4 separate regions of the Homo sapiens genome follow, and regions 1, 2 and 3 are each linked to region 4. Evidence: promoter capture Hi-C in 16 types of primary human blood cells and fetal thymus (Javierre and others, 2016). All regions are on one chromosome and are shown on one strand. Each heading gives the region's core, a stretch centred on a gene start or on the middle of the fragment in contact. The rest is flanking DNA. Distances are from core to core; before and after follow the strand shown. Region 1 overlaps LOC105374986 (a long non-coding RNA gene). Region 2 overlaps H4C8 (H4 clustered histone 8). Region 3 has its middle 15 kb from the start of ABT1. Region 4 holds the start of H2BC13 (H2B clustered histone 13).

Region 1 (3,613 bases), core at 359-2,858, 1.5 Mb before region 4:
GAAGATAAGCAGATTTTCTGGAAATGGATTTAGAGCAAGAGAGGATATCTAAAATCAAAGATATATGACACTGCTGGGGCTCAGAAACTGATATCCCAAAATATTGCACTTTGACATGCTGAACTGAAGAAGCTACAAGGTCTCTCTGACCTTCTCCCCACCCCTCCTGTCTCTCAATCCTTTCCGTCTCCCAAAGCACAGGATGAAGTTGTTTTCAGAAGTTCCTTATCTGCCTAAAGTCCAAACCTGCCAAAGAATACAATTATCTTTAGTCTCTACTCTGAGTTTTCATTAAATGAACTAATATCACAGGGAGAAACACAAGCCTGTCAACAAACCTAGATAGATTTTGTCACAAACCACTGTCTACTCTGCAGCCCTAACAGACATTGTCCCAGGCCCTTGCATGTTCTTCAAGCCCATTGAATTCCCCTACAAATCATTTATTATATCCCTAAAAACACTTCTCAAGCTCCCATTTCCCTAGGAAGTAGAATAAACATCTATGTCCAATTGCAGTATTGGGTGATCACTCTATCCACCCCCCTCTGCAGTGTACACGTTAATAATTTCATATGCCTTTTATTAATTCTGGTCATTAATTTAACCTTTTTCTTCTTTGGGGCCCACGTTGAAACCTCTATTTTCAACTTCTCTTCCAGTTAGGTGTGGCCTTTTAGCTAAGTTCCTGCCAATGGAACATAAACACAAGTAAAGATTGACATTTCCAGGCCTGGGACATAATAACTTTCCACGAAGGATTTTTCCATGTTCTTTCCCCTTGCAGGGCAAATGTAGAAGCCACATTTAGGATGGCTAAGCCACAAAGACAGAGGGCATCTAGGTTCCAGAACCACTGCTAGAAGAAAGAGGGACCTGCTGATCTAGAATACCCTTTTTGAACCTCATATCCGCAGAAAATAAACTTGTATTTATCTTAACTAGTATGCTCTGCACCAAAGAAGGGTCTAGATTCTTAATTTCTAAAAGGAAATGCATTCACTTGTTGCTGGATGAATCTTCAGGTCAAAACACTTCATCTGTAAAAGAAACATAAGATTTCATGGAGAGAAACAAAGCAAAATGTGGACTTCTTAAGAGTTAACCAGAGGAGAGGAAGCTATATTCACATCTATCAGCAGTAGAACTTCTGTCCACAGCCTAGTGATCTTTCAAATGTGGATGTGACCATAAGGATGAGGTAGTTTCATTGGATATGTTGCCTCTTGGGTCCTCCATTAGAAAAGCATAAGGAGGGTTGGATGCGGTGACTCACATCTATAATTGCAGCACTTTGGGATGCTGAGGCAGGAGGATCACTTGAGCCCAGGAGTTCAAGACCAGCCTGGGTAATATAACGAGACCTCATCTCTATATTTAAAGAAAAAAAAATTAAATAAAATCAGTAAGGCGGCCGGGGGTGATGGCTCATGCCTGTAATCCAACACTTTGGGAGAGAGAGGTGGGAAGATTGCTTGAGGCAAGGAGTTTGAGACTTCAGTGAGCTAGGATCATGCCACTGCAGTCCAGCCTGGATAACAGAGCAAGACTGTCTCAAAGAAAAAAAAAAGAAAAAGAAAAGGAAAAGAAAAGAGAAAAGAAAAATAAGAAAAGAAAAGCTCAAGGAGAAAACAGAGACTCTATAATATTGACATTGCTCCCCAAAAGTCTCGTAGAATAATCTGGGTAAATTTTGTAAGACACCAGATATGTCTTTTTTCCTCTAACTGCACTTAACCAAAAAAGTGAAAGTAATTGATAGTCCATTTTTGACAGTTATAATCATAAATAAAATCCCTGGATCTCATATCGGACAATAGTCTCACTCAATATGAAGGATTAAGAAGAAATGTGATCTCTCAATTTTTTGTCAAGGTTTATCTAGGGCTCAAAATCAGTAGCTGGGAACATGTATCATCTTCATCATAATTTAATTTTGTTTTATTATGGATTCGGCCATCACATTATAACCATTATAGAAATTTTAATGTGGAGTTCTGTTGCTAGTAGGAGCAGTTTTCTTTGTACTTTGGAGCTCATCCGTAGATATCTAGTATAATGAAATCTCAGAAAATGTTACAGCATATAAAGCCTTGTAAAGATTACATTGGTTTCTTTCATGTGAAAAGTAAAATGATAGCAATTTTGCAGATCTCTTATTTTTTATTTTAAATAAATTATCATATAATAATACTCTTTCCTTAACTACTGGTATCCTTGAATAAGGCGAGCAGTCTTCCATGGGGTTAGCACTCATTGCTTATCTTTTCCTGCCCCTGCCTCTTGATTCACTGTCTTAACTGAATGTCCTTGGGTATCTGGAGCAACACGTTTGAAAAATTAAAATGTATGAATCAGGCCGGGTTCAGTGGCTCATGCCTGTAATCCCAGCACGTTGGGAGGCCAAGGTGGGGAGATCACCTGAGGTCAGGAGTTCAAGACCAACCTGGCCAACATGGCGAAACCACATCTCTACTAAAAAAAAAAATACAAAACTTAGCCAGGCGTGCAGGCACCTGTATTCCCAGCTACTTGGGAGGCTGAGGCAGGGAGAAGTGCTTGAACCTGGGAGGCGGAGGTTACAGTGAGCCGAGATCCTGCCACTGCACTCCAGCCTGGGCAACAGAGTGAGACTCTGTCTCAAAAAAAAAAAAAAAAAAAAAAGAAGGCAGGGCGCGGTGGCTCACTCCTGTAATCCCAGCACTTTGGGAGGCCAAGGTGGGTGGATCACCTGAGGTCAGGAGTTGGAAACAAGCCTGACTAACATGGCAAAACCCCATCTCTACTAAAGATACAAAAATTAGCTGGACATTGTGGCACATGCCTGTAATCCCAGCTACTCAGGAGGCTGAGGCAGGAGAATCACTTGAACCCGGGAGGCGGAGGTTGCAGAGAGCCGAGATCGTGCCATTGCACTCCAGCCTGGGCAACAAGAACGAAACTCCGTCTCAAAAAAAAAAAGTATAAATCAGTACTGAGTTACCTGGAAATTCCAGCTTAAGAAAAACAAAGGCCCTGGTTTTATGTAGTTGGCTATCAGAACAATGTCCATAGCCCAAATATGCACCCAACTCAGGATCCATGAATCAATGTTTCTTCTCTCTGGTATGATCTTCCTACAGCTGTATAAAGAACTCACTCTCTTCTCTGCTCAGTCTTGTCAGGACCAAGAAAAATCTTCGCCTTCACCCTCTGAAGTTTTTCTCAAAAATCAATTACCAAAAAACAGATTAATAGGAGAGAAAGGCACACAAGTTTATTAACATGCAGGAGGGAGAACCACAGAGTAATTACCCCAACCCCAGCAGGGGGTACAGAAGCTTAAATGCCATCTTTAGGTTAAAGAATGGGGACTCAGAGCATGGCCAAAAACAGGTTAGGGTGGTCAATCATGCAAGACAGGTTATGGGAGGGCTTTGCTAACAAAGGTGGTCTTGTTATGTAGATGAAAACTCATAGGTAACAGCCCTCAAGAAGAATACATATATAGTAAATGTTTCTTTCAGACCTTTAAAGGTGTCAGACTCAGATTTTTTTTTTTTTTTTGAGAGGGAGTCTCGCGCTGTTGCACAGGCTGGAGTGCAATGGCACAATCTCGGCTCACTGCAACCTC
Region 2 (3,591 bases), core at 992-3,491, 1.5 Mb before region 4:
CAGCATCAAATACAGAGCTTTCAAGCTGAGATCCACAAATACGTTTCAGGAGGCCTGAGAACTCCTGGAATTGCAAGCAAAATATATGGGGAAAGTGGGCACATTTTGAAAAAGGTGTGAATATCTATCACTGGGTCTCCAAAGTAACCCCTTCATGGCTCTAACTTTAATAGGTTATTTGAATGAAAATTGCAATATTATTGCATACCCTTATTACCAAGGGCATTTTTCCACATTTGTAAAATAGGGATAACTTTTTCTGTTTGTTCCAAAAATTACAGAAACAGAATTACTAAATAAAGCACTTGTAAAACTGTAAGTTAGGAATCCAGATGTCGTATGTACAAAGCAAACATTCCTTACTTCCTTAACCCAGGGCCCAGTCCTTGCACTGCTTCTTCTTCATTATCAATCCTCTTTTCCTAACAGATATCATTTCACCTTCTGGCTTTTTTACCCTCATGGGAGTAAAAACTCAATCTATGTTTTCAGCCCAGACCTCTTTTCTGAAATCCAGATTTATATATCAAACTGTTTACTTTGTATCTTCCTCTTAGATATGTGTAATAAGCATCTGACACTCTCTCTGGATGTCCAAAACTAAGATATGGAATTCTTTCCAAAACTTGTTCCTTCAGTATTCTTCCCCATTTTAGCAATTGATACCTCCATTTCAGTTGCTGTCAATGAAATCACTGGAATCATCCATAAATTTTCTTTCTCTCATACTCTACACATTCAGTGACTCAGAAACGAACTATCAACCTTCTTTCAAAATAAACAAAGAATCCAACAACTTTTCACAGCCTCTACCACTAATACACTGGTCCAAGCCACTGCCATCTAAACTCCTTTATTTTAGTACCCTCCTAACTGGTCTCTGCTCCTATCCAGGTTCCATCACAGTTTATTCTTCATCAGGCATCCAGACAGCTCATTCTAAAATATAAATCAGATCAACTCAGTCCTCTGCTCAAAACCCTGAGTGGCTCCCACCTCACTAGGAATAAAAGCCAAAGTAGTTACACCGCCCATATAGGAACTGCTCGCCTCCATTTGCCTTTCAGACCTCATCTCCTTTCCTCTGCACCCTTCTCGCCTCCATTTGCCTTTCAGACCTCATCTCCATTCCTCTGCACCTCTTCTGCCCTTTTGCCCAGACACAATAACTCTCTGCTATCTCCAGGCTTTGCTACTTGGTCGTCTATTTGGAATATTCTCTCGTCTTTTTTTCTGCAACCATCGCTCTATCAGTAAAGCTTTCCATGACTCTATCATTTAAAATTATCACGTTCTCGACTGGGCGCGGTGGCTCACACCTGTAATCCCAGCACTTTGGGAGGCCGAGGTGGGCGGATCACATGAGGCAGGAATTCAGGACCAGCCTAACCCCATAAGTACTAAAAATACAAAAATTAGCTGCGTGTGGTAGCGCATGCTTGTAATCCCAGCTACTCGGGAGGCTGAGACACTAGAATTGCTTGAACCCAAGCGAGGCGGAGGTGGAATGTGCCGAGATCGCGCCACTGCACTGCAGCCTGGGCAACAGAGCAAGACCCTATCTCAAAAAAAATAACTAATTAAACATCACCTCCTCCCTCCACACGTCTTTAGCCTGTTTCAGTGATAGCACTTAGCACCATCTGATAGTTTCACTTACTTTGCGTGTGAAAGCACACCCAACAGACGCCATGCATACAGAAAATACTGTTTTGTTCACTGTCATTCACTCCTATACTTCTCAGAGCCATGAACAGTACCTGGCATACGTTATGTGCTCAATTTTTGTTGTTAAATTTATATCCTCATACAAACCAGTGCCTTAGCTCTGATAACATCGTTCTTTTCATATTAATGTACAAGTGCATATCTTTAAAAAAGATGAAACCCTAACTCCATTGATTTTCTCGATTTCAAAGTTATAACCCTACAATTTGCTTGCTGACCACAAAGAGGAAAAATCTGATTTTACAATGGAACTATCATCCTAAAGCAGCAATTGTCCTATTATCTTCAACGTAGATAAACCAGACATATGTCTCTGTATAAACTGACAAGCATATTAACCTGATTTCAACTAAGTATATAAAAGTCACTTCTGCTCAGGACAGAGTATAGAAGCCAAGTAAAATGATGCCGTAAGAAAAGCCAATCCAGGCCGGGCGCGGTGGCTCACGCCTGTAATCCCAACACTTTGGGAAGCCGAGGCGGGCGGATCACGAGCTCAAGAGATGGAGACCATTCTGGCCAACATGGTGAAACCCCACCTATACTTAAAAATACCAAAATTAGCTGGGCGTGGTGGCGCGAGCCTGTAGTCACTTGGGAGGCTAAGGCAGTAGAATCGCTTGAACTCGGGAGGCAGAAGTTCCAGTGAGCCGAGATCACGCCACTTCACTCCAGCATGGCGAAGGTGAGACTCCGCCTCAAAAAAGGAAAAAAAAAGCCAATCCAAATCTCCTACAAGTTTGGTCTCTAGCAAATCATTGTCCTGATGCCTGAATGTGTACTTTTTCAAAAGGCGATCATTGCTGGTTAAGAATTTAAGTTTTCGTGGCCGGGCGCAGTGCCTCATGCCTGTAATCCCAACACTTTTGGGAGGTCGAGGCGGGTGGATCACGAGATCAGGAGTTCGAGACCAGCCTGGCCAACATGGTGAAACCCCATCTCTACTAAAAACACAAAAATTAGGCGGGCGGCTGTAATACCAGCTATTCAGGAGGCTGAGGCAGGAGAATCGCTTGAAACTGTAAGGCGGAGGTTGCGGTGAGCCGAAATCGCGCCACTGCACTCCAGCCTGGATGAAAGAGCAAAACTCCGTCTCAACAACAACAAAATAAGTTATGGTGATGTTTCTATATTGCTCACTAAGCGGTACCCTACCTTTTAATATTTTCGTAATATTCAAAAACACATTTTAAGTCTATTGGAAACAATACTTGCAAGCTCTCAAGTGAACATTTATATTGTTACCCCACACTGCCTTTTGTAGACGAGTTTTGTCACCAAGTCAAAAGCAGCAGCGCGCACGCCGCCTGGACTTGGGTCTGCGATCCTACTCACGCAGATGTGTTGCGCTCACGGATTCGCCTTGGTTTAAGGCCCGCCGTCTGGGTGCGAGCTTTCTTTGTTTTTAGCCCTTCCCGCCATTTTGGAAAGGGTAACTTGCAGTCTCTCCGCGAAGTTTCCAACTTCTGTAGTCTTTGAGAACCTTACGAACGCTTCAAGCTTAAACTGAAGGAGGAAGGCCCACGGGAATTATAAACTGTCACAATCCAGCTTACTCACTGATATCTAGTGTTAAAATGCCACAAGAAAGCTAAACATATTCAACATACCAACTTCCCTCAAGCAGAAAACAGTGGCTTTAAGTACTTTATGCCCAAATCCTAAACATGCGAGATTAAGCACGAGTAATTAAACGTTACCTGCAAATCTACACATGTGCACAGTAACTACTTCTCAGCAAAAATCTGGAACAAAGCAGGATAACAAGATGTCTGCTCTTTTATGAAAAAAGTGGGCGGCCCTGAAAAGGGCCTTTGGTTGAAAATGAAAATAAGAGTGCAGCAAGCAGGAGCCTTAGCCACC
Region 3 (3,914 bases), core at 544-3,043, 1.2 Mb before region 4:
GGAATACTCTGTGCCCAGACTCCTAGCTCAAAGTGCTGTGAAATAATAAATGGGTGGTGTTTTAAGCTGCCAAGCTTGAGGTGATTTATTATGGAGGCAGTGTAAAACTAATTTATCATCTTTCATGCAAGTCAATTCCTCCTCCAACTCAAAGAGCAAATATACACAAATGTCAGACAAAGTCACAAGAGAAAGGCTTTTCATAAGCAAACCAGGGGAGACAGAGATGAGTCTAGTAAAACAAATGGGGAAGGAAGGGGAGGTGACAGCTGTAAGCAGCAATGGGCATTCGGCCCACTCCAAAATTGTAGGAAAACTGTCTAAGAGGTTCTTTCTCAAGGAGCAAGGAATCTGACTGATGTTTTCCAGGCTAACAGTCTTAAACCTCTAGGTGTTTAAGGCTAAATGGGCAGAGAGAGGATGGGGATGGAACATCATTTTTCTTTTCTTTTCTTGTTTTTTTTTTTGTTTTTTTTTTTCTTTTTTTTTTTTTCGACGGAGTTTCACTCTTGTTGCCCAGGCTGGAGTGCAATGGCATGATCTTGGCTCACCGCAACCTCTGCATCCCAGGTTCAAGTGATTTTCCTGCCTCAGTCTCCTGGGTGGCTGGGATTACAGGCATGTGCCACCACGCCCAGCTAGTTTTGCATTTTTAGTGGAGACAGGGTTTCTCCTTGTTGGTCAGGCTGGTCTCAAACTCCCGACCTCAGGTGATCCACCTGCCTCAGCCTCCCAAAGTGCTGGGATTACAGGCGTGAGCCACCGTGCCCAGTCTGAGTATTATCTTTCTAAGGGACAGTGCAGACTTGGTGGGAGGCAGTCATTCAGCAGGAGTAGCATCCACAGTGTCTCTCAGGGGATGATCAATGTTTCCCAAGGATAAGCTAGATTCAAGATTTTCTTAGAGCTCCTCCAAGGACTGTGTATGAACAACTAGTGAAATGTGGACAAACAGGCTCCCTACGAAGCCAGAGGGGGCCGGGCCTGGTGGCTCACACTTGTAATCCCTGCACTTTGGGAGGCCAAGGTGGGCGGATCACTTGAGACCAGGAGTTTGAGACCAGCCTGGCCAATCTGGCGAAACTCCATCAAAAAAAGCCAGAGGAAGAAAACCACACTTTAAAGCCAGACCAAGGAAGGGAAAGATTAAAGGCAAATGCAATTTCCCACCCCCAAGATGCAAGTGAGGAAAGACTATCTTCCCTTTTCTTCAGGCAAGCATATTCCCAGGGAAAAGCAGGAAGGTAAGACTCCTATCTGAGCTTACATATTGAAAAGAGAAATGCCGGCCGGGCGCGGTGGCTCAAGCCTGTAATCCCAGCACTTTGGGAAGCTGAGCTGGGTGGATCACTTGAGGTCAGGAGTTTGAGACCAGCCTGGCAAACATGGTGAAATTCCTTCTCTACTGAAAATACAAAAATTAGCTGGGTGTGGTGGAGGGCGCTTGTAATCCCAGCTACTTGGGAGGTTGGGGCAGGAGAATCACTTGAACCTGGGAGGCAGAGGCTGCAGTGAGCTGAGATCGCAGCACTGCACTCCAGCCTAGGTGGCAGAGGGATGCTGTCTCAAAAAACAAAAAGTAAATAAAAATAAAAAATAAATAAAATAAAAAGAGAAGTGTCAATAGCATGGGCAGAAAAGTTGTGGAAATTTCCCAAAGGTTGTTGCTTCTGGGCTTGCAGCTGTGGCTGAGCTCTTGTCTTATATCCCAAACTGATGGAAAATGAAGGTGCTGGTGCTCTGACAGGTCCTTCTCCCACTGAACCCTAGTCAGGGGGCATTGGTTCCCTAGGGGCACTTCTGCTGCTTAACAGGCCCACTCTAAGCAGGACACTCTGACTGAGGCAGCAGTGAAGAGGTTTCGAAACCCAGGCTTACTCTGTGGTGCTGTCTCCTTTGAAGGAAAATCATGTGCCCTGAATAAAGGATCCTGGGTGTTCAGGACCAAGTATACCCCAAAAGACTGATGGCACCAGTGGTCCTACTAGGGCCTGCTTCACTGATGAATGCTCCAGAAATGGAACTCCTGACTGAGCTAGACAGACCTATCCTAAAGCACCAGTGCCTTAGGATTGGCATTTCTCCAAAAGGAAGGCTCATGGGGCTGTGCTATCAAACGCTGAGCCAGTGGCCTCATTGTCAGGTGACTGTGTGGGACCCAAGTGGCCTTCTTTCTTTCTTTTAGATTGGGCTTCTATACTAGCCTAAATATAGATGGATCAGAAGATCCAGAAGGATCTGTATATGTAGGAGAATTAAGGGTTGGGATGCTTACAGGAATTGGTTTAGAGCAGGGATGGTTGGGGACTTGGCAGACCTGTCAGCCTGAGGGGTCAGAGGTGGCTTGGTGGGGTCAGTGATGAGTAATGTGGTAGAAGCAGGAGTCAACCAGGAGTAAGTGACTGTTGGCCTCAAGTCTGAAGAGGTGCCTGGAAGTGTCTCTGACTTCGAGGACACCAAAGGGGTCAGCAAGCTGGATGTCTCCTGAGGCAAAGCAGCCACACAGGTTATCCCTCCAGTGGACTATAGGAAGGCCAGTGGGCCTGGGGTATTCTGCATCACTTTCAAGCTCTCCAGCTTGGATTAGTGCTCCCAAATGGAGGGGTAGTTGGAAATGGTGCAGTCCCAGCAGCAGGTAGGGTGACAGAAAGGATGGGCTGAGTGGCAGGCACAATCTCAGGATAGTCATTGGTGGCCTCAGTCTGCTCCTTTATGACTTCGTTGACCTACCAGAGTGCAGCTTTCTTGTCCAAGTTTTCTGCAGTGACTGCATAACCAAGTTGGGGAGTTGAAGACAGGATACCCTCCCCCTATGGCTTAGAAGGCTGTAGCAAAGTTTTGCTTTCATGAGGCCCAGAACTAACAGATGTGGGCGATGTATTCCTTGAGTTTTGCTTTGTTTTCTTCTGTGAGGGAGTGTCTGCAGCCTGAACCTCATTGTTTAATCCCTATACAGCAAAGTGTGGACAGATGTTTTTCTGTGCCTTTTTGTTTGTTTTTGAGAGGGAGTCTTGCTCTGACGCCAGGCTGGAGTTCAGTGGCATGATCTAAGCTCACTGCAACCTTAGCCTCCTGGGTTCAAGCTCTTCTGTGCCTTTTTTAGGGGAAGAGGATAATGAGTACTTTAGACATCAGGAGGGATGTGAAATTGCAAACTGGGACCTCCTCTCTTCCCTGTCTTTGAAATGTTTCCAGGAGAGCTGTAGGAGCTGCCAATGTCATTTCTGTTGGAGCTGAGGGGACCACTTGGGAATATGCTGGTCAAGGGGCTCTTGGAGGGATGATGAGACTTATTCTAGTGGTCATCTGAGCTCTGGGAATGGAGGTTTGGCTTCAAGGGACTCGGGCACCAAATAAACAGGGATCCCATTGGCTATCACAGTTGAATGTGAATATCTGGTCTCCTGGAGACTTGTTTTCCTGTCCTGGCTCAGGGAATATTGGGTCTTCCACTTTCATTTTTTTGCATTCTCTGAGGGCCTCGGTTTGATTTTTTGTGCCATAAGGGTCTGGAAGCTTTAAGGGTGCTTAGCTCAAAGTCGGCTTTGGTACTGGAAACTGGCTCACTTGGATGAGGTCAGGGGAAGCAATCTTGATGGTCACCAGGCTCCTGCAGGGTGACCTCCTGGCTAATCTGTGGAAGGGAGTGGGGCGAAACACATCAATGTATTGAACACTGCAGGGTCGTAGAGAGCCAGCGGCTGGCGGGCTTCTCCGAAAGCTCCTGGTCCCCCTAGGAAGGCGGCGGTGAGGGATCAGGCTTCTCCATGTAGAACTACCTTTGGTGAGTGATGTGGCTGGACCTGGGTTTTCGAGCTGGATACTGCCTCCAGGGAGTTTTCATTGGCTGCCGATGAGACCCCGCGCGAAGTGCACAGTGTTCTGGTGACAGGTGACCGTCAGGGATGAATGAT
Region 4 (3,935 bases), core at 1,038-3,537:
ATATGCTATAAAGTACATGTGTATTCAAGGAGGTAAAGGAAGACAAAGGTTTTTAAAGAAAAAAATAAGGAGGGTTACAATAACAAGGGCGATGCCAGTCCAAGGTTGGGAAGGCAGTTGTTGGACAAATGGTCTTGTAGAAGTATTTTTTGTGTGTGTAAGGTTTTGATGGCCTGTGTTTATGGTTGTGGCTCTTACCATCTTTTGTGATAGTTTTTGTTATTAGGCATACAAGCGTGAGAACTTTCTCTTTATGGCTTTTCTTGGCTCTGTGTCAGGATTTTCTTAACATTAGTGATTTCATTTTGATTGACAACTTTCCCACTGTACAATTTCACACTTTAGGCAATTTACTCGAGCTCTCTGAACCCCCATTTTATGATCTGTAAAACAGGTATAAAAATAGTAATTTTTCACAAAGTTGTTATGAAAGCTAAATGATTTAACATATGTAGAGAGCTTTTTAGGACATTATCTGGCACATGATAAGCAGTAAATAATTATGAAAAAGAGCCTTCTTATTTTTTACTAGATAGAATGATGTACTGTAATTTATTGCTAATCAGTCAAATTGCTTCAGTCTTATACTACAAACAGTGCTGCTGGAAACCCCTGCATATATTATTTTGCATATTTTCAAAAATAGTAAATTCCTAGGGGTGAAATTTCTGATGTAAAGATAGGTGCATTTTAAAATTTTGACAGGTATTACCAAATTTTCCTTTATGAAAGCACTACCAATTTGTGGGGCCACCAGCAATGATTGAGAATTAAGGTCTGGGAGGCTTATTCAGGATTTTCCATTCCTATAGCAGAATACTATGACTGGCCTATGGTGAATAGTAGATGCTTAATAAATGTTAGTAAATTGGATGGTAAATAGTATACGAAAAACAGTTGGGTTTGGGTGAAAACAAGAAAAACTTTTAAAAATCTACTCTGGCATCTTTTGCTAGCAGGCATTGACAATTAGGAGAAGGCAAGGTGTTAACTTTTACTGATCTCCCACTTTTTTTTTTGAGACAAGGCCTGGCTTTATCACCCAGGCTGGAGTGCAGTGGTGCGATCTCAGCTCACTGTAAACTCCGCCTACCAGGCTCAAGCCATCCTCCTACATCAGCCCCCTAAGTAGCTGGGACAACAGGGGCGCGCCACCACTCCTGGCTAATTTTTGTGCTTTTTGCAGAGACGGGGTTTTGCTATGTTGCCCAGGCTGGTTGCGAACTCCTGGGCTCAAGGGATCCGCCCGCCTCCACCTCCCAAAGTGCTGGGATTACAGGCATGAGCCACCGCGCCCACCCCTCTAGTTTCCAGTTTAGTCGGAAAGATTAAAAACGCCAGCCTTGTTTTCCTAGTGCTGTTTTTGGTTTTTACCTCGGGTCTTTTGTCGTGCCTTAAAATCATGTCTGGTTGCGCAAGTGAGGGAAAGGATTGGGTAAAGGGGGCGCCACCGCAAGTTGCTGTGCAACATCCAGACATCACCAGACCCACCACCTGGAGCCTGGCCTGGCGGTGTCAAACGCATTCTGGTCTCATCTTTTTAGAAACCCGTGGATGCTCAAGGAATTTCCGGATAACGTGATCCCGGATGCGCTTGACTGACTTACACGGAACGAGCAAAGCGCAAAGCAGTCCCTGCTAAGGACTTAGTTTATGCCCTCAAGCGCAAAGGTCGGACCCTCTATGGTGTTGGTAGCTATATGCACGTACCTCATGTACATTTCACCTTAAATGGCTTTCAAAGAGCTAGATTAATTTAGTGGATAGATCAAAATGATTTATGACCCCTCGCCCCCCAGTGATAGGAAGAGCGAACCAGCTCTTCTTTAGATAATAGTGAGTGGCTCTGAAAAGAGCCTTTGGGTTGGACAAGAGCTTGAGAATTTACTTGGAGCTGGTGTACTTGGTGACGGCCTTGGTGCCCTCCGACACCGCGTGCTTGGCCAGCTCCCCCGGAAGCAGCAGGCGCACGGCGGTCTGGATCTCCCTGGAGGTGATGGTCGAGCGCTTGTTGTAGTGCGCCAGGCGGGAAGCCTCGCTTGCGATGCGCTCGAAGATGTCGTTGACGAAGGAGTTCATGATTCCCATGGCCTTAGAAGAGATGCCGGTGTCGGGGTGGACCTGCTTCAGCACCTTGTACACGTACACGGAGTAGCTCTCCTTGCGGCTGCGCTTGCGCTTCTTGCCATCCTTCTTCTGGGCCTTGGTCACCGCCTTCTTGGAGCCCTTCTTCGGGGCGGGAGCAGACTTGGCCAGCTCGGGCATAATGAAACAATAGTGGCAAAACCAAAACAAGAAGTCGGTCTCCTCTTTTTATATAATAGTTTATGCGGCCGAGGTAGTGGGAAGGTCTCTGCTGATTGGTAATTATCCGTGGATGACGACAGATGCCAGTTTTGCCCAATCAAAATAGGTATCCTGCATAATCGAGTCCTATTGGTCTAAATAAAAATAAAACGTAAGCCAATCGCACAGCTTCCTTTTCGCGCCCAGTAGAGGCTATAAAATGTACGTTTTTCTAGTTTCACTTCAGTCTTTCTTGACCGTATAGATAATAGGCCTTTTGCCATGTCTGGGCGTGGCAAGCAGGGAGGCAAAGCTCGCGCCAAGGCCAAGACCCGCTCTTCTCGGGCCGGGCTTCAGTTTCCCGTAGGCCGAGTGCATCGCCTGCTCCGCAAAGGCAACTATGCGGAGCGGGTCGGTGCTGGAGCGCCGGTGTACCTGGCGGCGGTGCTGGAGTACCTGACCGCCGAGATCCTGGAGCTGGCTGGCAACGCGGCCCGCGACAACAAGAAGACTCGCATCATCCCGCGTCACCTCCAGCTGGCCATCCGCAACGATGAGGAGCTCAACAAGCTTCTGGGCAAAGTCACCATCGCACAGGGTGGCGTCCTGCCCAACATCCAGGCCGTGCTACTGCCCAAGAAGACCGAGAGCCACCACAAGGCGAAGGGCAAGTAGAAGCCTGGATTAGTTTGCAGCAACTCAATCCCAAAGGAACCAAAGGCTCTTTTCAGAGCCACCTACAATTTTGTGGAAGAACTGAGCACTATGTTTAATGTAATTTCTCGTCTTTGCCTACTTCTAAACCACTCCAAAGGTTACGTAGATCAGTCTTCGGTGTCTTGGTTAGGTAGTGACAATCTCGTTAGCTTTATAAAAAGCCTGGATAACATTAAAAGTATTAAACACGCCTTCATCTTAAGCTTAGTGGAAGAAAATTTAGTTTTTCCTAAGCTGGCATTATCCAAGTATGTTGAATTCTGTATGGTTCACCGTCGGGTTTTACTTTTAGTCTGTTGAAGCAAACATGTCTGCTTTGGGGCCAGATGTTTTCTGGGTCTTGGTAAATAACAAACCGGGCATTCGACGTTCAATCCAAATCTAGATCAACGACTTGGATTCTTCATTTCTGAGAAATATCTCTCGAATCTGTATAATTAATTGCATTTGAACATTAATGATTGAGTTGAGAATAATTATTAGACTAATTAGAACAGTTACTTATGGTGCCAGGTAGTTCTCTTTGAAGCATTTTCTGAAAATTCATTGAAATTAAAATTTCCCGAGCTTTCCCACCCCCAGCCACACAAATTGATTTCTTAGTACAGAGATGACTTAATTTGTTTCAGCATGGTAAATTCCACTTTTAAAATATCTGACTTGATGTTTTTAATCTGAATCAGATCTGGATGTACGAATGGAATAGATTCTTAAAAGAAAATGAATTACATTTCTAGAGTATTGGAAAAATAAGCTGCAATGGAATTACTTTAATCTAAAAGTGAAAAGTTCACATAAAGTTGTTTCTTTGACATTTTTTGGCCTTGAATTTCTCACATGCGAACCAGCTTTTCTTGGTTATAAAAATAGAAGTTTTTTAAATTTAAGTGGTCAAAAGATAGAAAATTGAGGGGACAGGTGTATAAGGCTGT

Evidence for each region. The method cuts DNA at HindIII sites, captures the fragments that hold promoters and counts their contacts. A CHiCAGO score of 5 or more calls a contact.
Region 1: a fragment that was not itself captured here is called in contact with the fragment with the promoter of H2BC13 in region 4 in 2 of 17 cell types (neutrophils and monocytes); the score reaches 7.2 in neutrophils.
Region 2: a contact is called between a fragment that was not itself captured here and the fragment with the promoter of H2BC13 in region 4, in 1 of 17 cell types (erythroblasts). The highest score is 5.6, in erythroblasts.
Region 3: a contact is called between a fragment that was not itself captured here and the fragment with the promoter of H2BC13 in region 4, in 3 of 17 cell types (non-activated CD4 T cells, M1 macrophages and activated CD4 T cells). The highest score is 6.4, in non-activated CD4 T cells.

What each region holds. Positions count from the first base shown.
Region 1 is chr6:26,261,411-26,265,023 of GRCh38, forward strand. It overlaps LOC105374986 (a long non-coding RNA gene), which reads left to right. Exons shown (of 3, transcript XR_926613.3): 3 at 1-518. Among named protein-coding and RNA genes, the nearest start is that of H3C8, 8.2 kb to the right of the region's middle. The HindIII fragment of the contact is 3,420 bases long and covers 1-3,318 here.
Region 2 is chr6:26,281,606-26,285,196 of GRCh38, forward strand. H4C8 (H4 clustered histone 8) reads right to left here. Exons shown (of 1, transcript NM_003543.4): 1 at 3,521-3,591. The coding sequence ends at 3,583. Among named protein-coding and RNA genes, the nearest start is that of H4C8, 2.1 kb to the right of the region's middle. RefSeq lists enhancers at 2,770-3,505, 3,214-3,591, 3,506-3,591. The HindIII fragment of the contact is 1,969 bases long and covers 1,258-3,226 here.
Region 3 is chr6:26,609,566-26,613,479 of GRCh38, forward strand. No RefSeq gene overlaps it. Among named protein-coding and RNA genes, the nearest start is that of ABT1, 15 kb to the left of the region's middle. The HindIII fragment of the contact is 3,442 bases long and covers 73-3,514 here.
Region 4 is chr6:27,805,642-27,809,576 of GRCh38, forward strand. It overlaps H2BC13 (H2B clustered histone 13), which reads right to left and starts at 2,288. Exons shown (of 1, transcript NM_003519.4): 1 at 1,838-2,288. The coding sequence starts at 2,265. The coding sequence ends at 1,885. H2AC13 (H2A clustered histone 13) reads left to right here and starts at 2,532. Exons shown (of 1, transcript NM_003509.3): 1 at 2,532-3,026. The coding sequence starts at 2,569. The coding sequence ends at 2,961. It also overlaps the pseudogene H4C10P. RefSeq lists enhancers at 993-1,593, 1,594-2,193, 1,756-1,855, 2,106-2,335, 2,676-2,875 and 1 more. The HindIII fragment of the contact is 5,899 bases long and covers 1-2,854 here.